Regions from separate parts of the Homo sapiens genome. Here all the other regions are linked to region 4. The links are contacts of gene promoters, found by promoter capture Hi-C in blood cells and fetal thymus (Javierre and others, 2016). All regions are on one chromosome and are shown on one strand. Each heading gives the region's core, a stretch centred on a gene start or on the middle of the fragment in contact. The rest is flanking DNA. Distances are from core to core; before and after follow the strand shown.

The links. Contacts are between HindIII fragments. The CHiCAGO score rates a contact against its expected background, and 5 or more counts as called.
Region 1: a contact is called between the fragment with the promoter of POP7 here and the fragment with the promoter of SAP25 in region 4, in 11 of 17 cell types (total CD8 T cells, neutrophils, naive B cells and 8 more). The highest score is 9.3, in total CD8 T cells.
Region 2: a fragment that was not itself captured here is called in contact with the fragment with the promoter of SAP25 in region 4 in 1 of 17 cell types (endothelial precursors); the score reaches 5.3 in endothelial precursors.
Region 3: a contact is called between a fragment that was not itself captured here and the fragment with the promoter of SAP25 in region 4, in 13 of 17 cell types (erythroblasts, naive CD4 T cells, total CD8 T cells and 10 more). The highest score is 13.0, in erythroblasts.

The regions. Positions count from the first base shown.
Region 1 is chr7:100,704,742-100,711,505 of GRCh38, reverse strand. POP7 (POP7 ribonuclease P/MRP subunit) reads right to left here and starts at 5,385. Exons shown (of 2, transcript NM_005837.3): 1 at 5,202-5,385; 2 at 4,020-4,685. The coding sequence starts at 4,675. The coding sequence ends at 4,253. RefSeq lists an enhancer at 5,777-6,046. The HindIII fragment of the contact is 8,002 bases long and covers 1-6,764 here.
Region 2 is chr7:100,367,824-100,373,730 of GRCh38, reverse strand. It overlaps PILRB (paired immunoglobin like type 2 receptor beta), which reads right to left. Exons shown (of 4, transcript NM_178238.4): 4 at 5,900-5,907. PILRA (paired immunoglobin like type 2 receptor alpha) reads right to left here and starts at 244. Exons shown (of 7, transcript NM_013439.3): 1 at 11-244. The coding sequence starts at 74. STAG3L5P-PVRIG2P-PILRB (STAG3L5P-PVRIG2P-PILRB readthrough) reads right to left here. Exons shown (of 17, transcript NR_036570.1): 17 at 5,900-5,907. RefSeq lists an enhancer at 2,576-3,327. The HindIII fragment of the contact is 1,363 bases long and covers 1,082-2,444 here.
Region 3 is chr7:100,439,955-100,446,209 of GRCh38, reverse strand. No RefSeq gene overlaps it. Among named protein-coding and RNA genes, the nearest start is that of PPP1R35-AS1, 6.4 kb to the right of the region's middle. RefSeq lists enhancers at 938-1,097, 1,008-1,692, 1,693-2,377 and a cis regulatory region at 1,039-1,892. The HindIII fragment of the contact is 6,057 bases long and covers 1,867-6,255 here.
Region 4 is chr7:100,572,615-100,578,690 of GRCh38, reverse strand. It overlaps SAP25 (Sin3A associated protein 25), which reads left to right and starts at 4,791. Exons shown (of 6, transcript NM_001348680.2): 1 at 4,791-5,094; 2 at 5,291-5,394; 3 at 5,479-5,585; 4 at 5,678-5,831; 5 at 5,940-6,037. The coding sequence starts at 4,949. It overlaps LRCH4 (leucine rich repeats and calponin homology domain containing 4), which reads left to right. Exons shown (of 18, transcript NM_002319.5): 5 at 1-41; 6 at 180-292; 7 at 433-532; 8 at 779-869; 9 at 951-1,027; 10 at 1,133-1,194; 11 at 1,302-1,418; 12 at 1,537-1,605; 13 at 1,686-1,789; 14 at 1,914-1,997; 15 at 2,368-2,453; 16 at 2,683-2,820; 17 at 2,909-2,986; 18 at 3,387-4,680. The coding sequence ends at 3,584. RefSeq lists enhancers at 2,819-3,372, 3,373-3,927. The HindIII fragment of the contact is 23,848 bases long and covers 1-6,076 here.

The sequences.
Region 1 (6,764 bases), core at 4,136-6,635, 130 kb before region 4:
CTACTGGGGGGCTCCCGGGCAAGGAAGCCTTGCAGTCAGGCTGATGGAAAGGATGTGGCCTGATAGAAATGTCCGCAGCCAGCCAGGTACGGTGGCTCACGCCTGTTATCCCAGCACTTTGGGAGGCCGTAGGCGGGCAGATCACGAGGTCAGGAGATCGAGACCATCCTGGCCAACATGGTGAAACCCCGTCTTTACTAAAAATACAAAAATTAGCTGGGTGTGGTGGTGCGCACCTGTAATCCCAGCTACTCAGCTACTTGGGAGGCTGAGGCAGGAGAATCGCTTGAACCAGGGAGTCGGAGGTTGCAGTGAGCGAAGATCACGCCACTGCACTCCAGCCTGGCGATAGAGACTCTGTCTCAAAAAAAAAAAAAAAAAAAAGAAATGTCTGCAGCCTTGTCTCCCAGTACCTCTTGCTTTCTAGCCACCTCGAGTCCCTCCAGTCCCAGAACGTAGCTGCCTATTCATTAATCCCCTCCCTGCCCACTGTTTTTTGAGACAGGTTCTTGCTGTTTCACAAGCCCTCAGTCACGGCTTACTGCAGCCTCAACCTCTTGGGCTCAAGCAATCCTCCCACCTCAGCCTCCTGAGTAGCTGGACCACAGGTGCACACCGCCAAGCCCAGTTAATTTTTAAATTTTTGATAGAGACAAAGTCTTACTCTATTGCCCAGGCTGGTCTCAAACTCCTGAGCTCTAGCAATTTTCTCTCTTCGGCCTTCCAAAGTGCTGGGATTACAGGCATGGCCACCATTCCCAGCCAAATCCACCCATCTCCCCGCCCCACTGTGATCTCTCTGCCAAATATGCCATCTCCCTTCTTTTCTGCCTGGCAAACTCCTATACATCCTTCAACACCCAGATCAAAGGTGAGTGAAACCATTTTGGGTCCCACCAGGAAGTTATTAGCCCTTTCCATCTCCACATTTCCTTATCATTGCTACTCTTATGTCTCACACATCTTACTCATTCACAAAAAATTATGTGTCCACCTTCCCAATTAGATGGCGAGCTCCTTGAACATAGGGACCATTTCATACGCAGATGCCAGAGGAAGGGATTTTGATGAATTAGAAGACTGATCTTCAGACCTCCAAACCAAACTACCTTCCTTGAATTAGAGTGAAATTCTGTTCCTAACCTGTAAATCAGAGGCTCTTAAACTCTTATGACCTCAAACGGTAAAAAACACAATGTACATCCTATTATAGTACATATATATATATATATATATATACACACATGCCTAACTGAAAAATTTGCTGGCCAGGCCTAGTGGCTCACACCTGTAATCCCGGCATTTTGGGAGGCTGAGGTGGGTGGATCACCTGAGGTCAGGAGTTTGAAATCAGCCTGGACAACATGGCGAAACCCCATCTCTACTAAAAATACAAAAATTAGCCAGGCGTGGTGGCACACGCCTATAATTCCAGCTACTCAGGAGGCTGAGACAGGAGAATCGCTTGAACCTGGGAGGCAGAGGTTGCAGTGAGCCAAGATTGTGCTACTGAACTCCAGCCTAGGAGATAGAGACTCTGCCTCAAAAAAAACAAAAACATCTGCAATAAAAACACCACCATTTAAGTTGCACTTTTTTTAAAACTTGGGTTCTTTTTTCTTTTTCTTTTCTTTTTTTAGACAAGGTCTTGCTCTGTCGCCCAGGCTGGAGTGCACTGGCGTGATCTCAGCTCACTGCAACCTCCCCCTCCTGGGCTCAGGTCATCCTCCCACCTCAGCCTCCCAAGTAGCTGGGACCACAGTTTTGTGCCACCATGCCCAGATAACTTTTTATATTTTTTGTAGAGATGGGATTTCGCCATGTTGCCTAGGCTGGTCTCGAACTCCTGCGCTCAAGAGACTGACCTGCCTCGGCCTCCCAAAGTGCTGGGATTATAGGCGTGAGCCACCACACCCAGCCTTATTTTTTTTGTTGTTGTTTTTGTTTTTTGAGACGGACTCGCTCTGTCGCCCAGGCTGGAGTGCAGTGGCACAATCTCGGCTCTCTGCAACCTCCGCCTCCCTGGTTCAAGCGATTCTCCTGCCTCAGCCTCTAGAGTAGCTGGAACTACAGGCATGTGCCACCACGCCTGGCTAATTTTTTGTATTTTTAGTAGAGACAGGGTTTCACCATGTTAGCCAGGATGGTCTTGATCTCTGGACCTCGTGATCTGCCCGCCTCAGCCTCCCAAAGTGCTGGGATTACAGGCGTGAGCCACCGCGCCTGGCTTTTTCTTTTTTTAAGAAGCTGTGACCCACAAATGGGTCACAACCCGCTTTGATAAACATTGCTTTAGTTGACTTTAGTTTGATAAATATGAAAAATCAGGTCATCCCACAAATATCCAAACAGAAAGTATTACCTGTGTGCCCAGTAATTATTTGGAGTGAGGGGTTCCTTCGCCACTGGAGCAGCCCAGTGAGAAGGGTCTGAAGGCCGGGCGCAGTGGCTCATGCCTGTAATCCCAGCACTTTGGGTGGCCAAGGCAGGCAGAACGCTTCAGGTCAGAAGTTTGAGACCAGCCTGGCTGACATGGTGAAACCCCTTCTCTACTAAAAATACAAAAAATTGCAGGGCATGGTGATGGATGCCTATAGTCCCGGCTACTCAGGAGGCTGAGGCAGAAGAATCCCTTGAACCCAGGAGGCAGAGGTTGCAGTGAGCTGAGATCGCACCACTGCACTCCAGCCTGGATGACAGAGTGAAGCTGTCTCAAAAAAAAAAAAAAAAAAAAAAAAGGGTCTGAAGGGCTCTGCACCTGAAAGCCCGGGTATCATCTAGGTAGGCCCTGCAGGTCCAGGAATTAAATGAAGCCACTTGTCAGTCCCTACCATGGAGCCTGACACTAAGAAGGTCCTGAAGTCTTAGTTTGCTTCCTTTTTTTTTTTTTTTTTTTTTTTGAGATACGGTCTTGCTGTGTCAGCAAGGCTGGAGGAGTGTAGTGCGGTGATCACAGCTCACTGCAGCCTTGAACTCCTGGGCTCAAGCGATCCTCCTGCCTCAGCTAACGAGGTAGCTGGGATTATAGGTGCAAACCACTACACCCATCTAGTTTTCAAAAATTTTTTGCATTTGGGAGGCCAAGGCGGGCAGATCACTTGAGGTCAGGAGTTCGAGAACAGCCTGGCCAACATGGTGTTTCCACTAAAAAAATACAAAAATAATTAGCTGGGCGTGGTGGCACTCACCTGTAATTCCAGCTACTGGGGAGGATGAAGCAGGAGAATCACTTGAACCCAGGAGCCGAACGTTGCAGTGAGCCAAGATGGCACCACTGTACTCCAGCCTGGGTGACAGAGCAAGACTTCATCTCAGAAAAAAAAAAAAAGTGGTTTTTTTGCATAGACTAGGTCTCAGTATGTCATCTAGATTGGAGTGCAGGTGGCATGATCATAACTCACTGCACCTTCAAACTCCCAGGCTCAAGCACTCTTTCCGCCTCAGCCTCCGCCAGTAGCTCAGACTACAGGCTGGAGCCACTGCACCCAACTAGAAGACGAAAATCTTTAAAACAAACATTGGGGCTGGGCACGGTGGCTCACGCCTGTAATCCTAGCACTTTGGGAGGCCGAGATGGGTGGATCACAAGGTCAGGAGATCGAGAACATCCCTGCTAACACGCTGAAACCCTGTCTCTACTAAAAATACAAAAAAATTAGCCAGGGTGTGGTGGCAGGCACCTGTAGTCCCAGCTACTCAGGAGGCTGAGGCAGGAGAATGGCGTGAACTCAGGAGGTGGAGCTTGCAGTGAGCCAAGATTGCACCACTGCACTCCAGCCTGGGTGACAGAGTGAGACTCTGTCTCAAAAAACAAACAAACAAACAAACATTGGGATGACTGGGTTTCTGCACTGTACTGTTTTGTTACACTGCTCATAGCATAATCTATGCTCTCTATAGAGGCAAGAAACACTTGGGTTCCCCTTTCACCTAGATACCTGTAGCGTTTCCTACCATCCCTATTCAGGCACACACAGAATTTACACAGGAAAGAATCAGTGGCAGTGGGATGGCAGGACACTAGTGCAACAGGATTTTTTATTTATATGGCAATAGTTACAGACCGCATACACACACTCAGGAAGGCCCACTAACTGGGCCCACCAAGAGACAATTACCCCCACCCTCAATGCAGAGTCCTTTGGGCTTCCAGGGAACAGGCCTTTTCTTACATGGCTCTGGTCCGAGGTCCAGTACTCAGCATGCGAAGAGCCATATCACGGAGGGGATAAGTGGAGGAGTGTCTTTTCAATTACTTGGGTGTGACCCTGAAGACTCGGATGTGGATGGCTGAGTTGTTGCGGATCCGAGTCAGTGGCTCCCGTGTGTCGGTCTCTGGCTCCAGCTCATCAACAAGCTCCACGGTGGAGGTATTGGCAGCCACCTGCAAGGACCCGAAGCTGCCCGCCTGCAGCTGCAGCGCGATGTTGATGGCGCGGTTGATGGCCAGGCCCAAGCCGTGAATGTAGATCTCAGAGCACGCGTTCTGACCCCGGGCCCCTCCGTCCAGCAGCTTCTGGCAGCGGGCCAGCTGGGCCTTAAAGTCCGTCTTCATGTTGACATAAATGTCATTGGGTCTCCGGGGCAGGCGGCTGGGAAGCCTTTTCCTAAGGGTGTATTCCACTGGATCCAGTTCAGCCTCCACAGCACCGCGGGGCTCTCGGTTTTCTGCCATGCTGTGTGCCCTGGCGTGGGAAAGGGACGCGATCAGAGGGCTCAGAGGGACCTCGAAGCCTTTCCTACCCCTTTTCCTGTACAAAGGGTGCACCTGGCCGGGCAGTGGCTCACGCCTGTAACCTCAGCACTTTGGAAGGTCGAGGCGGGAGGATCACTGGAGCCCGGGTGTTTGAGATCAGCCTGGGCAACATAGCAAGACCCTGTCTTAAGAAAAATTTTTTTAATTACCCGGGCCGAGGGGGGAGGATCGCTTGAGATCGGGAGTTCGAGGCTACAGTGAGCCGTGATCGCGCCCGCCACTGCACTCTAGCTTGGGAAACAGAGCAAGCCTCTGTCTCAAACAAAAACAAAAACAAAAATAAAGGGTGCACCCGAGAAGGGACACACTCGATGTCCCTGTTTCCTTCCGGCCCCTCGTCCTCTCCCACTCACCTCCAGATCCCGCGTCTCCCCACCCCCCGTTCCGATTCATTCATCGCGTCGCCCTCAAACTCGCGCCCCTCCGCCGCCCCTCCCGTGCTTACTCTCTTCGTTCCACAGGGCCCTCCAGGCGCGCGAGGCCCGCTCCCCGCCAGGCCACTCAAGGGTTCGCCGGCCAGCCCAAGTAACCGCGACCCCAGGTCCCAGAGAAAGAAGGATGTGGGTGCAAGCAGCCAGCCAGCTCGTGGGCGCCCTGCCCGCGCCGGGGTCCTGAACGGGCTGCGGAGTGCGCACGCGCGCCCGTACCCCGCGAGCTATGAATCGCCTTCCCGGCTTCCGTTCGCCCCGCCCCTTCCCTGAGCGCAAGGGCGACTGCGCGAGGCGTTTGAGAAACGCGAGACTTCCGGGCGTGACGGGATCTACACGTGTACGCCTCGGGAACTGGCGGGCGGCCGAGGGCGGGAACCAGGTCCGAGCCGGGGAGGAGCTAGAAAGGGCCGGGTCGGCGTCTCTAGGCCTGGCGGAGTTCCCGGCCGGCGGAGGGGTAGCGTAGGGAAGACACCTGGAGGGGAGGCTGTTCTAGGGGCAGGGTTCTTCCCCATGGGAGCAGGGAAGGGGCCGAGTTCAGGAGACCGCGGTCGCCAAGGGGCCTGAACTCCGCGTCCGTCGCAGCTCCTCTGGTCAGAAGAGGCCTGGGCAGGGCTGGCAGAACTGACCCCCTAGTCTAATGTCCCTGTGGCCCGAGGACCGAGGGGGAACTGAGGGACATAGCCGGTCCCCACCTCGCTGGAGGACAGCGTCCCGGGACTCCCCTGCAGTTCACGGGAAGCTGTCCGCCTCCTGTCTGTGCTGGGGACCCACGCTGTGAGCCCTAAGCCCAGGCTTCACGGGTCCCCAAGGAACGCTGACCCACCCACGCCCCTCAACCATCTCCCACCAGCTCTGCAGCAGGCGACCCCGGATCAGGGACTTGCCGCCCCCTGGCGGGCAAGGTGGGGAGGACGCGCGCCGGATTCGTGGCTCTCAGGCCAGTGGAGTGGGGGCTCTGCCCAGATGGGCATAGTTTCTGCAGAGTTCCCTTCTGAAATGAGTAGGACCTGCTGCACTGGGGACCTTGAACTACTCTGTTTGCCCAGCATTCAAATGGGGATGTTCACAACAGCTCCACCATATTGCACATGCATTTTATTGAATGGCTAGCTGTATAGCTTCTGTCTACAAACTTGCATGCATTTATTTTTGAGACAGGGTCTCTGTGGCCCAGGCTGGACTGCAGTGGTGTGATCTCAGCTCACTACAACCTCTGCCTACCGGGTTCAAACGATTCTTGTGCCTCAGCCTCTTGAGTAGCTGGAATTACAGGCGCACGCCACCGCACCCGGCCAGTTTATTTCATTTTTTTGAGACAGGGCCTTACTCTGTCACCCAGGCTGGAGTGCAGTGGCGTTAACACGGCTCACTGCAGCCCTGAACTCCTGGGCTCAAGCAATTCTCCCGCCCCAGCCACCTGAACAGCTTGGACTACGGGCATGCACTAGCATATAAAGTTGTATTTTAGAAGTTAATCCTTGGTATTGAAATTTTCGATATGTTGGCCGGGCGCGGTGGCTCACGCCTGTAATCCCAGCACTTTGGGAGGCTGAGACGAGCGGATCACGAGGTCAGGA
Region 2 (5,907 bases), core at 514-3,013, 200 kb after region 4:
GGGTACTCACTAGGCTGCAGAAATGCTGGCGGCAGCAGCAAGGGCAGTAGGGGCAGCAGCAGGGGCCGACCCATGGCCTTGTTCTTCTCCAGGGGACGGGGAGACCAGCAGAGCCGTCCAGGCAGGAGAGGGGCCCTGTGGAGGGGCCGCCTGGGGGTTGAGGTGAGTGAGGAGAGCCGGGCTCAGGCTCCGAAGAGGGCTGTGGGGGCCAGGAGCCTTCCCCAAACCAGTGCACCTCCAGGGTGACCAGCACTTCCTTTATCCATCTGGCTTATTTTCCCCTATTGCAAAAGGGCCTCCCTTGTGGTCAGTGCCAAGTCAGCCCTGCCCAAAGGCCGCGGTCCCCGTCCTCCTGCCGAGGGGCTGGGCCTGACCTTGGGGGGCTGGGCCTGACCTTGGCTGGCTGGGCCCCTCCCACCTGGATCCCTGCAGACCCCACCTCACTCAGCCTCACTTCTCATCCTTCTCTCTGCCCAGGGCCAGCGCAGGCTCTTTCAGGGAGAGGAAAGGCAGGCCTGAATCTCTGTCCTTCTGCGCCCCAGATTCAGTCCTCAGAGAGGAGGAGAAGGAAGCCGGTGGAGGTCACAGGTGCTCAGCCCCCAGCCCAAGCAGAAGAGCCCCCAGCTTGTCCTCTGTCCCTCTCCCTCCCTGGCAGGGGCTCCCATGCAGTCCCCAGGCACCACCACGACCCAGCTGGCCTCTTCCTGCCCCAGGCCCTCTCTCGGTGCAGGCACCACGACCTTGCTCAAGGGGTGAGGGGGCTAATGGTCCCCTACACAGAGACTGGTCCTTCTGGAAGCCACCCCTTGACCCCCAAGACATGAGACTGGGTCTGCAGGCTCCCCTCTGACGTCCCGCCCTACACAGGAGGGGACAGGGCTCTGAGAAGCCCTGCCCCAGGCCACGTGACTTGCAGTAGTGGGTACAGGACTGGAGCCCCCTCAACCCAGATGTCTGGGCCTGGCTGAAGGGTGGAATCTCTGGGCCTCAACTTCTGAGTGCAGGACAGGAGGCTGTCCCTTCATACAGCCCCTCAGGTCATTCCCTCCACACACCTGAGCCCTTGGCTGATCCAGAAGCTTCCTTGGACACAGAAGAAAGTGAAGGCTCAGAGCAACACCCACCCCACACACAGTCCTGGGCCCATCTCTAACGGGGATCTGCCGGCCTTTGCCCGGGGGTGGTCACTGGAGCAGGGAGCTTTGGTGGTGCACAGGGCTCCCTCCGTAGGAGGCTCTGCCCACCCTCTCCAGGGTGAGGTGGCATCAGTTGAGGGGCCGTGGGGGAAGACAGGATTTCATCAGAGGAAGTGACATCAGCCTTCTTGAGACAGAAGCAGGCAGGGACGGGCCTCCCTTCTCTTAGTCTCTTCCCTGGTCCTAGTAGGCTCCTCTGTGCTTCCCAGGGCCAGCCAGGCCGGCCCGCCCTCCCTCCCTTTACAGGCCTGAGGAAACAGGTTCCCCATGCTCAGGAAACCCCTCCGTCTGAGCCAGGCCCTAAACACCTCATTCTCTGCTTCACAACATTCTGAGGTGACACATTATCTCCATTCAACCCACAGGGAAACTGAGGGACGGGGGCTTTGGGCTGAACTGGTCACAGCTGGAAAGATGGGCTGCAGAGAGGACAAGGGACCCCCTGGCTGTCTGGGCAGGGCCTCGAGAGGGTGGCCCGCCCCACCTGAGGACCTGGCTGAAAGGTCACCTGCTTACCAGGCTGTCCAATGTGGGGGCCACATAGAACTTATAGCCAACAGCCTCTGGGTAGCTCTGGAGGGCACATGCTGCCCAATGCTGCCACGTGCAGTCTCCTTAGATGCAACATGCATGTTTATGTCACTTTCAGGCCCTGGATCCAGCTGAACCCCCATGGGAGATTCCTTCTGTGTCAGGATTTCTGCTCTGGGATGGTGTGAGGTCTCCTGGATTTGTTCATCCTCCCTCCCCCAACAGCAGTGACAGAACCTGGGACTGAGCCTGGGGCTGTGGCTCTCTCACAGACAGGGCTTCTGAGAGGAGGAGGAGGGCCTGGAGGAGGGCATGATTCCAATGTGGGCAGAGCCTAAATGCAGCCCCTTAGTGCAGGTGCTCATGGGAGAGGCGTGGGAAGTCGTGTGTGGGGAGCAGGGGCAGGGAGGGGGTAAGTACCCTGCACCGCATTATGAGAACCACTGCTTGGATGTCCCCACATTCCCCCAACAAGTATCCTACTGTCCTCACTGGCCACATCCGTCCCTGCCCCCAGCCCCTCACCTCTCCTTGGCACCCACCGTTCCTGCTTTCCTCTGATCCCAATCGACATCCCATAGGCTTTGTGGAGTTCACAAGCCAACTGTAATATTCTCACAGTAATTCAAAGGACCTAGAATAGCCAAAAGGCCTTTACAAATGAAGAATGAAGGTGGAAGATTTATAATACCTGACTTCAAGACTTGCTGTAAAGCTTCTGTAATCAGGCTGTACTGTCCTCAAGGTACTAGAGTGTCCACAGACTGGAGTGTAGGGACGCGATCACCATCACTCCTGGGCTGAAGCAATTTGCTGACCTCAGCCTCCCAAGTAGTGAAGACCACAGGCACACACCACCACACACGGCTAATTTTTTTTTTTTTTTGAGAGATGGGGTCTCACTATGTTGTCTAGGCTGGTCTCAAGTTCCTGGGCTTAAGCAATCCTCCTGCCTCGGCCTCCCTCAGTGCTGGGATGACAGGTGTGAGCCACCTCACCAAGCCCCACTGGATTGCTGATATTCTGGCATCTTGGACCTCCAAGAGCAGAGAGAGGGACTGCCCCTGCCAGAGCCAGCCAGTTGTTAGAGCTAGCAAATGACCCCTCTGAGAGTGTCCCTTTTTTTTTCTGAAACAGTCTCACTCTGCTGCCAGGCTGGAGTGCAGTGGCACGGTCTCGGCTCACTGCAACCTCCACCCCTGGGTTCAAGCGATTCTCCTGCCTCAGCCTCCCAAGTTGCTGGGATTACAAGTGCGTGCCACCATGCCCAACTAATTTTTGTATTTTTAATAGAGACGGGGTTTCACCACGTTGGCCAAGATGGTCTCCATCTCCTGACCTTGTGATCTGCCCACCTCGGCCTCCCAAAGTGCTGGGATTACAGGCTTGAGCCACGGCTCCTGGCTGAGTGTGCCTTTCATATGCAAACCAGCTAATCCAGGGCCCCAACACTGAACCAGCTCTTCTAGCTGCCTCTCACCCTTCAGAAGGCAGTATTTCTCTGCCTTCATCATCCTGGGCCAGACACCAAATAACAAATGACAGCCTCTAATCCCCAGAGCCTGCTAACGTTATTCTAACTAGCCAATCCTAAACCTGCATACCCTTCCTTGCCTTTTCCAGGGAAAGCATAACAAAGGGTCTCACCCCTGTGTTCCCTTGGCTTCCTCTACTCCCTGAGGGACCCTGGTGCTTTCCCAAGTGGCCCTGCATGGCTGTGTCTCTCGTTTCTGGGGATCTGTGAGGATACACTGCTTCCCTTATGACCCTCATTTCCATGGCCATACCTGATGGAAAGAAATGGCAGGTGCATTTTGTTTTATTATTATTATTATTTTGAGACGGAGTCTCACTCTGTCGCCCAGGCTGCAGTGCAGTGGCACCATCTCGGCTCACTGCAACCTCTGCCTCCCAGGTTCAAGCGATTCTCCTGCCTCAGCCTCCCGAGTAACTGGGACTACAGGTGCCCACCACTATGCTCACCTAATTTTTGTAGTTTTAGCAGAGATGGGGTTTCACCATGTTGGCCAGGCTGGTCTTGAACTCCTTACCTCAGGTGATCCACCTGCCTAGGCCTCCCAAAGTTGCTGAGATTACAGGCATGAACCACCGCGCCCTGCCAGCAGGTGCATTTGATTTATTTTTATTTTTTGAGACGGAGTCTCGCTCTGTCACCCAGGCTGGAGTGCAATGGTACAATCTCGGCTCACTGCAACTTCCACTTCCTGAGTTCAAGTGATTCTCCTGCCTCAGCCTCCTGAGTAGCTGGGATTACAGGCACGTGCCACCATGCCCGCCCGGCTACTTTTTGTATTTTTAGTAGAGATGGAGCTTTGCTATGTTGTTCAGGCTGGTCTCGACCTCCTGACCTTGTGATCTGCCTGCCTCAGCCTCCCAAAGTGCTGGGATTACAGGTGTGAGACACTGTGCCTGGCCCAGCAGGCGCATTTTAAAAGAGCTTTTAACTCTCTGGACAATCCCAGGAGGTAGGCAGCATCTCTGTATGGTCCTCAATTTATACAGAAAGAAACGGAGGCCCTGAGGGTGGTTCTGAGCCTAGCCTGAGGTCACATGGCCCAGGAACGTCCACTGTGGCATCAGGTCTGAGCTTGGGGCCTGTGCGGCCAACCACTTCCCCATTCAGTGACATCAGCCAGCAGTCCTCTGGGCCTCTGTGACAACCATGCTTCCCTTTTCTGTGTTGTCTTCCTTCTGCACAGGGAGGTGCTTGAGGGCTGGGGCACTGGCTGGTGTAGCTTTGGGTCCTTGTCACCCAGTGCAGTGTGCCTGTCACCCAGGGCAGTTAGTGCTGACCAAATGCGTATGGAGAGGGTGGAGGCATCTTCAAGGGGTGGGGATCAGGTGACGATCATTTTCAGTAGAGATGGGGTTTCACCGTATTGGCCAGGTTTTTTGTTTTGTCTTTTTTTTTTGAGACAGGCTCTCTCTCTGTCACCCAGGCTGGAGTACAGTGGTGCAATCACAACTCACTGCAGCCTCAGTTGCCACCTGAGGGCTCAATTGATTCTCCCACCTCAGCCTCAAAATGTGCTGGGATTACAGTCATGAGCCACTGTGCCTGGCCCAATCATGCCTTTATAATGAAGCCCATAAAAACCCAAAAGGGATGCAGAGGGCTTCTGGATAACTGAACTCATGGAGCTTCCTAGAGGGTGCAGTGCCTAGAGAAGACACGGAAGCTTTGCACCCCTTCCCCCAGGCCTCCCTCTGTGTATCTCTTATATCTGGCTGTTCATAACTATCCTTTGTAATATCCTATATCTTTATTTTGAGACGGGGTCTCGCTATGTTGCCCAGGTTGGTCTCAAACTCCTGTGCTCAAGTGAACCTCCCCCCTCAACCTCCTGAAGCACAGAGATTACAGGCATGAGCCATGGCGCCAGGCCCTATAATATCCTTTATAAGGGGACACATGTAAGTAAAGGGCTTCCCTGAGTTCTAGGTACCATTCTAGAAAATTAATTGAACCCAAGGAGGGGATCATGGGAACCTCAATTTTTATAGCCCTGTGTCAGAAGCACAGGCACCACGTGAGCTTGCGACTGGCATCTGATGCTGGGGCAGCCTTGTGGAACTGAGCCCTCAACCCGTGCGATCACAGGAAGCAGCCAATTTGCTGTAGTAGCCGTGGCCAACACACTGTCTCTGACAGTGTTCTTGCCCCTGCCCACTCCTTCTTAACGATTCCCTCTCAGCCAGGCATGGTGGCTCACGCCTGTAATTGCAGCTATTTGGGAGACTGAGGCTGGAGGATTGCTTGAGCCCAGGAGTTTGAGACCAGCCTGGACAACTTGGTGAAACTCCAGTACCACTAAAAAATACAAACATTAGCTGAGTGTGGGGGTGCACGCCTGTAATCCCAACTACTTGGGAGGCTGAGGCATGAGAATGGCTTGAACCCAGGAGGCAGAGGTTGCAGTGAGCAGAGATTGCGCCACTGCACTCCAGCCTGGGTGATGAGAGTGAGGCTCTGTCTCAAAAAAAAAAAAAAAAAAAAAAAAAGATTTCCCTTCTTAAACTTGCTTCCAACTGCTTTAAATCTGTGAGTGCCATCTGTTTCTAGTGGGGAGGCTCCCTGCATCATGACTGGACTCAGGTACTGCAGAGCAGGAAGGGGCACTTGGCAGCCATGTGGGAGATGCACAGGGAAGTGTCAGCA
Region 3 (6,255 bases), core at 3,646-6,145, 130 kb after region 4:
AGTCATGACCCAGGCTGGTGGGGCCCCATCAGGGAGGTTAAGTCTCTTTTTTAAAATTTAATTTAATTTATTTATTTTTGTAGAGACAGAGTCTCTCTATGTTGCCCAGGCTGGTTTCAAACTCCTGGCCTCAAGTGATCCTTCTTCCTTGGGCTCTCTTAAGTGCTGGGATTACAGGTGTGAGCTATGGTACCCATTGCCCTCTAGAGGAAGGCAGGCCCAGCCTGCAATCCCAGCATTTTGGAAGGCCAGGTCAGAGGATTGCTTGAGCCCAGGAGTTTGAGACCAGCCCGGGTAACATGGCAAGACCCTGCCTCTACAAAAAAAAAAAAAAAAAAAAAAAAATTACCTGGGTGTGGTGGCATGTGCCTGTAGTCCCAAGCTACTCAGGAGGCTGAGGTGGGAGGATCGCTTAATCCCCAGAGGTCAAGGCTGCAGTGAGCCATGATCGTGCCACTGCACTCCAGCCTGGGTGACAGAGCGAGACCCTGTCTCCAAGAAAAAAATAAAACTTGAAAAAAAAAAAATCTAGAGGAAGGCAAAGGGTCTGGAGGGCATCGTGAGCAACACTCACCTGGTCAGTGAAGCTGAGCAAAACTGCCCTGCTCAGACCTGAACTGGCCTGAGACAGAGACAGAAAGGGGCAGGCAGTCTGGGCATGGTGGCTCACACCTGTAATCCCAGGATTTTGGGAGGCTGAGGCAGGCGGATCACCTGAGGTCAGGAGTTCAAGACCAGCCTGGCCAACTTGGCGAAACCCTGTCTCTAATAAAAATACATAAATTAACTAGGTGTGGTGGCGTACACCTATATAGTCCCAGCTACTTGGGAGACTGGGGCAGAAGAATCACTTGAACTGGGAAGCAGAGGTTGCAGTGAGCTGAGATTGTGCCACTGCACTCCAGCACTCTAGCCTGGGAGACACAGTGAGACTCTGTCTCAAAAAAAAAGAAAGGGCAGTCTCAGACTCCCAGAGAGGAGAACAGCAAGTTTCTGTTCCACCTACTTCCTTCAAGGGCTTCTTCCTCCAGGAAGCCTTCCCATCCTCCAGGCTGAGCTGACCTACCCTTCACAGAGCTGGGGCTGGTGTTTAATCTGCACAGGCTGCATGAAGTTTTGCATCCTCTTTCCTGGAGCCTGGCCTGGCCTGGATGTTAGAGTTCATGCTGCACCCTGGGAGGGTGAAAGCTGGCCCCACTCAGAGCTGTCCATGCCACTCCCAGGCCCCAGCAAATAGCAGGTGTCAGTGAGCGGGTGAGAGGCATGTCTTCTGCCTCCTGGGACTCTGAGCTTCCTAGAACTGGGGCCACATTTCCTGCCTTATCTGTTTTCTCCACTGAGCAGGGCTGGGGCTGGAGGGGGCACGTGTGGGGCCAGCCAGCAGGAGCCCGAGGCGAGAGGGTCTGAACCCCCTGCCTCAGAGCCTACCGGCAGAGAGACCAGGGGCCTTTCATTTCCCAGCATCCCCGACATCCTGCTCATCTGCTGCAGAAACAATGAACACGGGAAAAGGGCAGGATGTCCCAGAGGTCGTCCAGAGGAGGAGAGGACAGGCTGAGTCAAAGGTGGGGAGGGAGGAAGGACAGAGGTCAATGGCACACGTGCCATGATCTCATCAGCTCCTGAAAAACAATGACTCGACCTTCTGAGGGCCCCAACTGAGCTCTGGCAACCATATGAGGCCAGTCATTTCCTCAGTGTTCAGATGAGGAAGAGGGGGGCTCTCAGAGGAAAGGGAATGATCCCCAGGTCACATGGTCAGTAGGCACTGGAGCTGGGACTGAAACCCAGGGAGACAGACGAGAGACGGGCCAGGGCTGCGAGGAGGCAGAGAGGCAAGGGCTTCGGCCTCCCCATTTCCAAGCTTGCATTCCCAGGAGTCCATTCATATGTGAAAAAAATGGCTTTTTATTTATTTATTTGTTTAGAGACAGTCTCGCTTTTTGCCCGGGCTGGAGTGCCGTGGTGTGATCATAACTCACTGTAGCCTTGACCTGGGCTCAAGTGATCCTCCCACCTCAGCCTCCTGAGTAGCTGGGACTATAAGTGTGCACCATCACACCCAGATAATTTTTTAAATTTTTGGTAGAGATGGGGTCTTTCTATGTTGCCCAGCCTGGTCTCCAACTTCTGGGCTCAAGTGATCCTCCCGCCTTGGCCTTCCAAAGTACTGAGATTACAAGCATGAGCCATTGCGCCTGGCTTATTTATTTATTTTTAGAGACAGGGTCTCGCTCTGTCACCCAGACTGGAGTGAAGTGGCACAATCATAGCTCAGCGCAGCCTCAAATTCCTGGGCTCAAGGGACCCTCCTGCCTCAGCCAACAAAGTAGCTGGAACTACAGGCATACACCACCATGCCTGGCTAAATTTTTTTAGAAATGGGGTCTTGACCAGCCCAGGCTGGTCTTGAACTCCTGGGCTCAAGTGATCCTCCGGTCTCAGCCTCCTGAGTAGCTGGGACTACAGGTGCACACCACCACACCCGGCTAATTTTTTTGTGTTTTTATTGTAGAGACAGGGTTTCACCATCTTGCCCAGGCTGCTCTCGAATGCCTGTCCTCATGTGATGCTCCCACCTGGGCCTCCCAAAGGGCTGAGATTACAGGTGTGAGCCACTGCACCCGGCCTGATAGCAGAACCTGCTTTTCTTCTACCAGCCTCTCTTGGACTGTGGAAAAACCTCACACCAACATCTCCTTGTCCAATCGCCTCTCTTGGACTGTGGAAAAACCTCACACCAACATCTCCTTGTCCAATCCAGAGGCTTCCATGGAATCACTCTCCACCCCAAGACCCCCCAACATCTCCTGTGTGCTCATTGAGTAACAGACCATCTGCTGCTTCCCCCGTCCCCAACCATCTCCCCAAGGTCCTGGGCATTGGTCCCCTGCTAAGGGGATCTGTCGGGACCTGCCTCCCAGAGTGAGGGTGGCGATTTCTGCATACATTTCCCCTATCTGTGGCTCCCTTTTCCTGGGTTATGGGCCCATCTTCCGTGCCTCCACACCCTTTCTTTCTACCTCCAGCTGTCCCTGGGCTCTTTGGGACCCTAACCACTGGCATCAATCAACCTTCTATGCCCAGTGTGGACATCAAGGACATCTCCCCAGCAAGCTCAGGCCTTCAGCCCAACATTCTCCTCCTTGCTGTGCTCAGCTCCATTGAATTCTCCATCCTCCACCCCACCCTGCAAATCTGTTTATCTTTGCTTTTCTGGTTTCTTTCATTTTCCTCTGCCTCACCCAGATTCCAGACAAATTCTTATTTATTTATTTATTTATTTGAGATACAGTTGCTGGCGGCTCACTGTAACCTCTGCCTCCCAGGTTCAAGTGATTCTCATGCCTCAGCCTCCGGAGTAGCTGGGATTTGCAGGCATGTGCCAGCACACGCAGCTAAAATTTTTTTTTTTTTTTTTTGAAATGGAGTCTCGCTTTGCTCGCTTTGTTGCCCAGGCTGGTGTGCAGTGGCATGATCTGGGCTCACTGCAACCTCCACCTCCTGGGTTCAAGCAATCCTCCCACCTCAGCCTCCCAAGTAACTGGGATTACAGGCCTGGGCTACCACATACGGGTAATTTTTATATTTTTAGTAGAGACGGGGTTTCAGCATGTTGGCCAGGCTGGTCTTGAACTCCTGACCTCAAGTGATCCATCTGCTTGGGCCTCCCAAAGTGCTGGGATTATAGGCGTGAGCCACAACACCCAGCTTGGATTATGGACAAATTCTTTTGAATGAGACTCTGTCCCCTGCCTCCAACTTTTCTGCATCCCAGCAGCTGGCATCATCCCATGTCCCAGAGACTTCACACATACCTAATGGGGCTCATCTCAACCCTCCTGTTCCTCAGCCTGATGCTGGGGAGGCCAGGCTCAGGGTCAGTGTGTTGGCCTGCAGCCCGATGTGTGCCCTCCTCCCTGGATCTCTTCCTTCTGGGTTGGGACGAAGGCGTGAAGGTGGTTTGGAGTCATGAGTTCAGGCTGAGACACCTCAGACCTACCTGACCTGCTGGGGGATTCACCCTGCCAGCCTCCGAGATGCAGTAGGATGAGAACACGCACTCTGGGGATAGGAGCCTGGATGTGTGTGTGTCTGGAGGTTGGCCATTCCCATCTTCCAGCGTGTCTCGTGTGACAGGGACCAGTGTGGAAGTGTCTCTGGGTTGGCCCTTAGGCATAGGCCAGTTTGAGAATAGGAGACAGGAGGTGAGAGGTCGCCATAGGTGGGGTTTGCAGAGGGTGGTATTAGAGCTTTGCTGTCTCTCTGATCTTTCTTGGCCCTATTTGGGGGTGACTTCCAGGATGACGCCCTTGCTCCTCCCCCACCCCCAACCCTGGCAGGTCTTCCCATGTGTCCTCTGTAGCAGTCTCAGCCACACCGTGCAGTGGACCACTGCATTGGAGGCATCCTACCTCTTCTTAAGGACATGGTCCCTTCAAGGACCCTGGATGCTGACCTGTCTCCTGTCCCACCTAGCCCACCTATAGCACCTGGCTCAGCAGAAGCTCATGGATGACCTTGAATGACCCCTTCCAGCACTGAGACTTGCTTTCTTCAAACTAGCATCCAGGTCTAGGATTACCCCACTCAGCAGCCTCAGATAACTAAAGGAGCATCTCTAACTGGTGAGGTCTAACCCAATCAAAAGTCTTTTTTTTTTTTTTTTTGAGACGGAGTCTCGCTCTGTTGCCCAGGCTGGAGTGCAGTGGTGCGATCTCGGCTCACTGCAAGCTCCGACTCCCAGGTTCACGCCATACTCCTGCCTCAGCCTACTGAGTAGCTGGGACTAGAGGCGCATGCCACCACACCCGGCTAATTTTTTGTATTTTTAGTAGAGACAGGGTTTCACCGTGTTAGCCAGGATGGTGTTAATCTCCTGACCTCGTGATCCGCCCGCCTCGGCCTCCCAAAGTGCTGGGATTACAGGCGTGAGCCACAGCACCCAGCCCAAAAGCCTTATAATAAATAATATTTAAGAGATGGGTGTTGCTCTGTCGCCAAGGCTGGAGTGCAGTGGCGTGATCATAGCTCACTGCAGCCTCGAAGTCCTGGGCTCAAGGGATCCTCCCACCTCAACCTCCCCGGTACCTGGGACTACAGGAATACACCACCACGCCTGGCTAATTTTTAATTTTTTTATAGAGACTGGGTCTCACTATGTTGCCCAGGCTGGTCTTGAACTCCTGGCCTCACAGGGATCCTCCTGCCTCTGCCTCCCAAAGTGCTGGAATTACAGGCATGAGTCACGGTGTCCCAGCCATTTTTTTTTTTTTTTTTTTTTTTTGAGACAGAGTCTCACGCTGTTGCCCAGGCTGGAGTGCAGTGGTGCCATCTTGGCTCACTGCAACCTCCCCCTCTCAGGTTCAAGTGATTCTCATGCCTCAGCCTCCCGAGTAGCTGAAATTACAGGCATGTGCTGCCATGCCCAGGTAATTTTTTGTAGTTTTAGTAGAGAAAGGGTTTCACTGTGTTGCCCAGGTTGGTCTCGAACTCCTGGCCTCAAGTGATCTGCCTGCCTTGGCCTCCCAAAATGCTGGAATTATAGGCATGAACCACCATGCCCTGTCCTCCTCCCCATTTTTTTTTTTTTTTTTTTTGAGACCGAGTCTCGCTCTGTCACCCAGGCTGGAGGGCAGCAGCACAATCTCAGCTTACTGCAACCTCTGCCTCCCCGGTTCAAGCAATTCTTCTGCCTCAGCCTCCTGAGTAGCTGGGACTACAGATGAGTGCTACCACGCCCAGCTAATTTTTTGTCCCCTTTTCTTTTGAAGAGGAAAAGCAATTCCTGGCCTCCCAGCCTGGGCCAGCCAAAATAGCTTAGGAAGAATGTGGGCAGGCCCAAGACCTCTCACCTCCCTCACCTCCACCTTCCGATCTTCACACTCGTACTGTTTTTTTTTTTTTAATTATTATTATTATTATTATTATTTTGAGACAGAGTTTTGCTCTTGTTGCCCAGGCTGGAATGTAATGGCACGATCTCTGGCTCACTGCAACCTCCGCCTCCCAGCTTCAGGCAATTCTGCCTCAGCCTCCTGAGTAGCTGGGATTACAAGCATGCACCACCACACCCGGCTAATTTTGTATTTTTAGTAGAAATGGGGTTTCTCCATGTTGGTCAGGCTGATCTCAAACTCCCAACCTCAGGTGATCTGCCTGCCTCGGCCTCCCAAAGTGCTGGGATTACAGGCGTGAGCCACCGCGCCAGGCCCTGTTTTCTTAAAATCATTGGTGAACATTCCACTTCTTGGA
Region 4 (6,076 bases), core at 3,542-6,041:
TTCTGCTGGACAGCAACCCTCTGCAGAGTCCACCTGCCCAGGTGAGGCGGGTGCCTGGGGGGCCACGAGGACAGGGGTGTGGCTAGGCAGGAGTGGGGTTGGTCCCCTTGGATAGCTGAGCAGGATCCGGGGAGCTGCCCTCCCTGCCAACTCCCTGGCGTGTGCTGCCCCGCACACAGGTCTGCCTGAAGGGGAAACTTCACATCTTCAAGTATTTGTCCACAGAGGCCGGGCAGCGTGGGTCGGCCCTGGGGGACCTGGCCCCTTCTCGGCCCCCGAGTTTCAGTCCCTGGTAAGTCCTAGGTGGGGAGGAAGGAAGCCCTGGGATACTGAATGCCCCTTCCCGGCCCCAGGCACCCCCTGCTTTCTGGCAGGAGGATGGGGGGCTGTTGTCCAGCATCAGGCTGACCAGATCCGCCTGGCTGGCCCCAGCCCTGCAGAGGATCTATTTCCGGGACATCGGTACGATGGTGGGCTGGACTCAGGCTTCCACAGCGTTGATAGTGGCAGCAAGAGGTGGTCTGGAAATGAGGTAAGGGCGTCCTGTCCATGGGTGATTGAGGGTGTCAGCCCTGGGAGAGCACCTCTGAACTGGGGACCTCCAAATTGCAGGGTGCCAGGCAGAGGCTGGAGCTGTCCTCTTCCTTCCCTCTGCCCAGCATCCCAGGGAAGGGCTGGCTCAGCAGAGACCCTGAGCTTAGTCCCACACAGGACCCCCCAGGTCCTGAGCCCCCATGTACAGAGAGGCCATCTCCCATCTCTGCCTCTGCCTTTACAGTCAACAGATGAATTTTCAGAGCTGTCATTCCGGATCTCAGAGCTGGCCCGGGAGCCCCGGGGACCCAGAGAACGCAAGGAGGATGGCTCAGGTGAGTAGCAGGGCTGGCCGGGAGCTGGGCTGGACCAGGGCCTGGGTCCCCGCTCACTTGCTGACATGCTGGCCTCCCCAGCGGACGGAGACCCTGTGCAGATTGACTTCATCGACAGCCATGTCCCCGGGGAGGATGAAGAGCGAGGCACTGTGGAGGTGAGAGCCCAGCTATGCCTCTCCCAAGGGAGGGGAGCTGGAGGAGGGGACAGGGCAGGCGTGGGCACAGGCCTGCCCTCAGCTGCTCTGCTGTTCTCTCCTTAGGAGCAGCGACCACCCGAATTAAGCCCTGGGGCAGGGGACAGGGAGAGGGCACCAAGCAGCAGGTACCCCAAGCCCCCAAACTGACGCCACTGCCCGATCCTCCCACCCCCCAACCGCCTCCTTCCCTGACCCCGGGGTCTGCCCCTCTTGCCCTGTCTTGGTCCCTCAGGCGGGAGGAGCCGGCAGGGGAGGAGCGGCGGCGCCCGGACACCTTGCAGCTGTGGCAGGAGCGGGAACGGCGGCAGCAGCAGCAGAGCGGGGCGTGGGGGGCCCCGAGGAAGGATAGGTGGGACCCAGGGCCGCCCGGGGCTGTTGCTGGACACTGAGCCCTGGAAATGGGGCCACCGAGCCCCGCTGAGCCGTTCTGCCTTGGGGCTAGCTGACCCCACCTCTCCTTGTTCCAGCCTCTTGAAGCCAGGGCTCAGGGCTGTTGTGGGAGGGGCCGCCGCCGTGTCCACTCAAGCCATGCACAAGTAGGTTTCCTGCCAGCATCCCCTCCCCACTCCTCTTCCTATGACCATCATCCCTCTAATTCCCTTCTGTCTCTCCTCAGCGGCTCGCCTAAGTCCAGTGCCTCCCAAGCAGGGGCTGCAGCGGGGCAGGGAGCCCCCGCCCCTGCCCCTGCCTCCCAAGAGCCCCTTCCCATAGCTGGACCAGGTGGGACAGGGATTTTGGGAGGAGGATGGGGCCTGTGTTGGTGAGGGCTGGTTGGGAGAGAGGGACACAGAGGGGATGCCTGTCTCACCTGCCCCTGTCGCTGTGTCCCTGGTTCCGGCCCCAGCGACAGCACCTGCTCCACGGCCACTTGGCTCCATTCAGAGACCAAACAGCTTCCTCTTCCGTTCCTCCTCTCAGAGTGGCTCAGGTGGGTGTCCTGCCCTCCCCAGTGCTGACCCAGTGCTTGCCAGCACCAACGGCTACATCACCCTTCTGCCCTGGGAGCCCTCTGGGTCTGTTGTACCTTTTGTACCTTTGCGTTGAAAATCCCACAAGCAAGCCGGGTGTGGTGGCTCACACCTGTAATCGCAGCACTTTAGGAGGCCCAGGTGGGAGGATCGCTTGAGCCCAGGAATTCAAGACCAGCCTGGGCAACATAGCGAGACCCCATCTCCATGAAATAAAAAAAAATCCCACAAGCAGAGAGGCAGGAGGTGTAGGTGCCAGGCCACTGGGACCCAGCTACAGAGTCAGTGGTGAGCAGTGGAGGCAGCCCCATGCCCCCCTTTTTCTCCTAGGCCCTTCCTCACCAGACTCTGTCCTGAGACCTCGGCGGTACCCCCAGGTTCCAGATGAGAAGGACTTAATGACTCAGCTGCGCCAGGTGAGCAGAGGCGGGAGCTGCGTGGGCAGGGGCCTGGGCCGGGCACCTCCTTGTGTTGCTGTCCTTGGGACCAGCCTCCCTCCACATCCTCTGTGCCCACTCTGGCACCTCCCCTGAGGACAGGAAGGGACAGGCACAAGTTCCCTGCTAGCCCTGAGCCCCCCACTCTCCCTGCCTCCCAGACGCCTCTCCTTCCCTGACCCCTGCTCTATGTGGTCTACACTGCCAGGTCCTTGAGTCCCGGCTGCAGCGGCCCCTGCCTGAGGACCTGGCCGAGGCTCTGGCCAGTGGGGTCATCCTGTGCCAGCTGGCCAACCAGCTACGGCCGCGCTCCGTGCCCTTCATCCATGTGCCCTCCCCTGCTGTGGTCAGTTGGGGCTGGGGAAGAGGTGGGGGATGGGCCGGGGCGCCTGTGGCCTCTCCCTTACCACATTTTCTTCTTTCACCCACCCCAGCCAAAACTCAGTGCCCTCAAGGCTCGGAAGAATGTGGAGAGTTTTCTAGAAGCCTGTCGAAAAATGGGGGTGCCTGAGGTATGGGGGCTGCTTTCTAAAGAGTGGTGGCATGCCGGACTCAGCCGAGCATGTGGCATGGATGGTGGGCTTCCATTTGCAGCGGATGTCTGCTCTCAGATGAAGGCACAGGCTGCCCCTGCCCTGCCCAGCATGCCCCCTGCCCTGCATGCCCCCTGCCCTGCATGTCACCTGTCCTACACATCCCCTGCCCTGCAGGCCCCATCTTGTCCTGCATGTCACCTGTCCTGCACATGCCCTGCCCTGCACTCCTCCTGCACTGCACTCCCCCTGCCCAGCACGTCAGCATGTGGGCGTGGTTCTGGCCCCAGCACGTGAGGGCAGGGGTGGGAGGGACTGTCCTGCTGCTGCTGCTGACGTCTGTCCCTTGTCCTTGTCCACCTGCTCTCCTCTCCCCCAGGCTGACCTGTGCTCGCCCTCGGATCTCCTCCAGGGCACTGCCCGGGGGCTGCGGACCGCGCTGGAGGCCGTGAAGCGGGTGGGGGGCAAGGCCCTACCGCCCCTCTGGCCCCCCTCTGGTCTGGGCGGCTTCGTCGTCTTCTACGTGGTCCTCATGCTGCTGCTCTATGTCACCTACACTCGGCTCCTGGGTTCCTAGGCCCCAAAATCGGCCCTCCCTCACCCCTTTCCCTTCCTCTCTATTTATAAGGTCCCTGCTCCACCCGACCCCACCTGCGGTGCCTTCAGCCCCAACCAAAGACACTAGTGCACCCCCTTCACAGACACTGACCTCAGAGGCCCCACTCTGGTGCCCCCAGACCCTGGGCCCCCAGCCTCTGGCCTCCCTCCAGTAGCCCCACGAGTCCCCACCTCTCAGTGCTGACGGTGCCTTCATGTCCCCGCCGGCCCTGCCCCTGCCCTCTGTACCCCGTGAGGGGTGGCAGGAGCTGGAGTCTCCCCCTTCCTCCTGTGCCCTCCCCTTCCCCCCCCAACAGCTGCTATGGGGGGGCTAAATTATCTCTATTTTGTAGAGAGGATCTATATTTGTAGGGGTTCGGGGCCCAGGCCGGGTCCCTATCTCTGTGTATAAACTGTACAGACCGTGGCCGCCCTGCCTGTGTGTGTGTGTGTGCGCGCGCGCGCGCGTCTGCTCCGCGTGTTGGTGGCTGTGGCCATGGCTCTGTGCCCACCAGCATCTCCCTCCTGAGATGCCGGCCTCTCATGCTCCCGGAGCGTCCGCCAACCCCCCGTGTCACCTCCCTTCTGTTATCGCTGACAGCTTTCTTGCGTCTCATTTGTCGCCGAGCCCCGAGCGCACGGTGATGCTCGGGTCTGCCCCCGACCCCCTGCCACAGGCCGGAAGCCGCAGGGGGCACCGTGGGGAAGCTAACCCGGCCCCTTCCCCCAGGAGTCACTGTGCCAGCCCCACCACATCCTGGAAGAGGAGGGGGCCCCGGGAAGGGGCCTCCCCTACATCGCTGCTGTCGTCCACGCCCTGCTGGACCGGCCTTAGGGGTGAAGGTGGGGGCACAGGGCCCACCCCGCCCGGGACCCCGGGAGCAGAAGACGCGCCTGGGCTCCGCGCTCTCAGAGAAGCACGTGGTGAGGGTGGCCTGGGCCTGGGCACCCTTGGCCTGCCGGCCTGGCTGCCTCTGGGGTCGAGGGTCTGGGTGGAAGGACCGCGGGTGTCGCAGGTGTCGTGTCAGCCGCAATAAACAGAAGCCAGAAGCCCTCTGGGTGGCCCTCAGGTGTAACTGTGTCTGAGAGCACGTGCGTCGCGGGGTTGTTGGGGGGGCCTCTGTTTCCGGAATTCACCGCCCAGTCGCCAGGGGGCGCCCGCGGGAGCCCGGCGGGGGCACGCGCCACGTGGCCGGGAGACGCACAGGGCGCCAGCGTCGCCGCGAGGCCTCTGGGGTGGGTTCGCCAGGAGGGCACGTTCGCGCCGCGCCGCGGAGGGAGGCTGAGAGGGCCGGGCCGGGCGGCGGGGACACGGCGGTACCGTCCTGCGCTCGGGAACGCGGAATGTTGCCCTGGTCGCCGCCGCGGTGGGGCGCGGGCCCGGAGGAGGCGCCCGAGGGACCAGGCCTTCCGGCGGGCAAGGACCAGGGCGAGCCCTGGAGCGCCGGAGCGGACGCCCCCAGGGAGCTGGGGACACCCCCATGGGACAGGTGAGGGGCTCGGACGGAGCCGTGGGGGGACAGCGACTGGGGGCCTCCATGCCTTCACCACGCGCTCTACGGAGGCTTCTCCATTGTCCCTGCTGGAGATTGGGTCCCTCGGTCTCCCTTGCACCAGGCACCCTTGGGCTCCAGGGGAGGGTGCGTGGGGGCGGTGTGGCTGCAGCCTCAGTCCCTGCCCCTCCAGCCCACAGCCCCCATCCCGTAGCCCTTCCTGGATCTGGAGAGAGCAGCTGCTGCTGCCCCACCACCTGCCAGGCCCGGCCACTGAGCAGCCCCCCGGAGCCCCAGGTAGGACAGGCCCTGCTGCCTCTACTACCCCTAAGAGCCTCTCACTGACTGTGAGCCTGTTATAATCCCCAAGCGTCCCCCCAGATCCCCGTTCCCCCCAGGTGGCCTGGGAGGTGGCCCCCTCGAGGATGACTCCACTAGCGCCCTGGGACCCCAAGTATGAAGCCAAAGCAGGACCTCGGCCGGTGTGGGTGAGTTGGGGGCAAACCTGTGGGACTGGCTGGGGTGCTCAGGGAGCTGTGCGGTGGCCTGAGGCTCCAGTGCTCTGTCCTCCTCACCCTAGGGGGCCAACTGTAGCTCAGGAGCCTCGTTCTCAGGCCGGACGCTGTGTCACCCCTCATTCTGGCCGCTGTATGAAGCAGCCTCGGGCAGGGGTCTCAGGCCCGTGGCCCCTGCCACAGGGCACTGGAATGGACAGCAGGCGCCCCCAGATGCAGGTACCTCCCTTGGTCCCCCGGGGGCGCAAGGCTGCCCCAACTCCTCTGGGAACCAGTGCCCAGGGGTGGGAGCCCGCAGCCCGCCACCCTAGTGGTGTTTCCTCCTAGGGTTCCCGGTGGTGTGCTGTGAAGATGTCTTCCTCTCGGACCCTCTGCTGCCCCGGGGGCAGCGTGTTCCCCTGTACCTGTCCAAGGCCCCCCAGCAGGTGAGAGCTCTTTCCCCTCCCTGTCCTTACCCCAGCCTC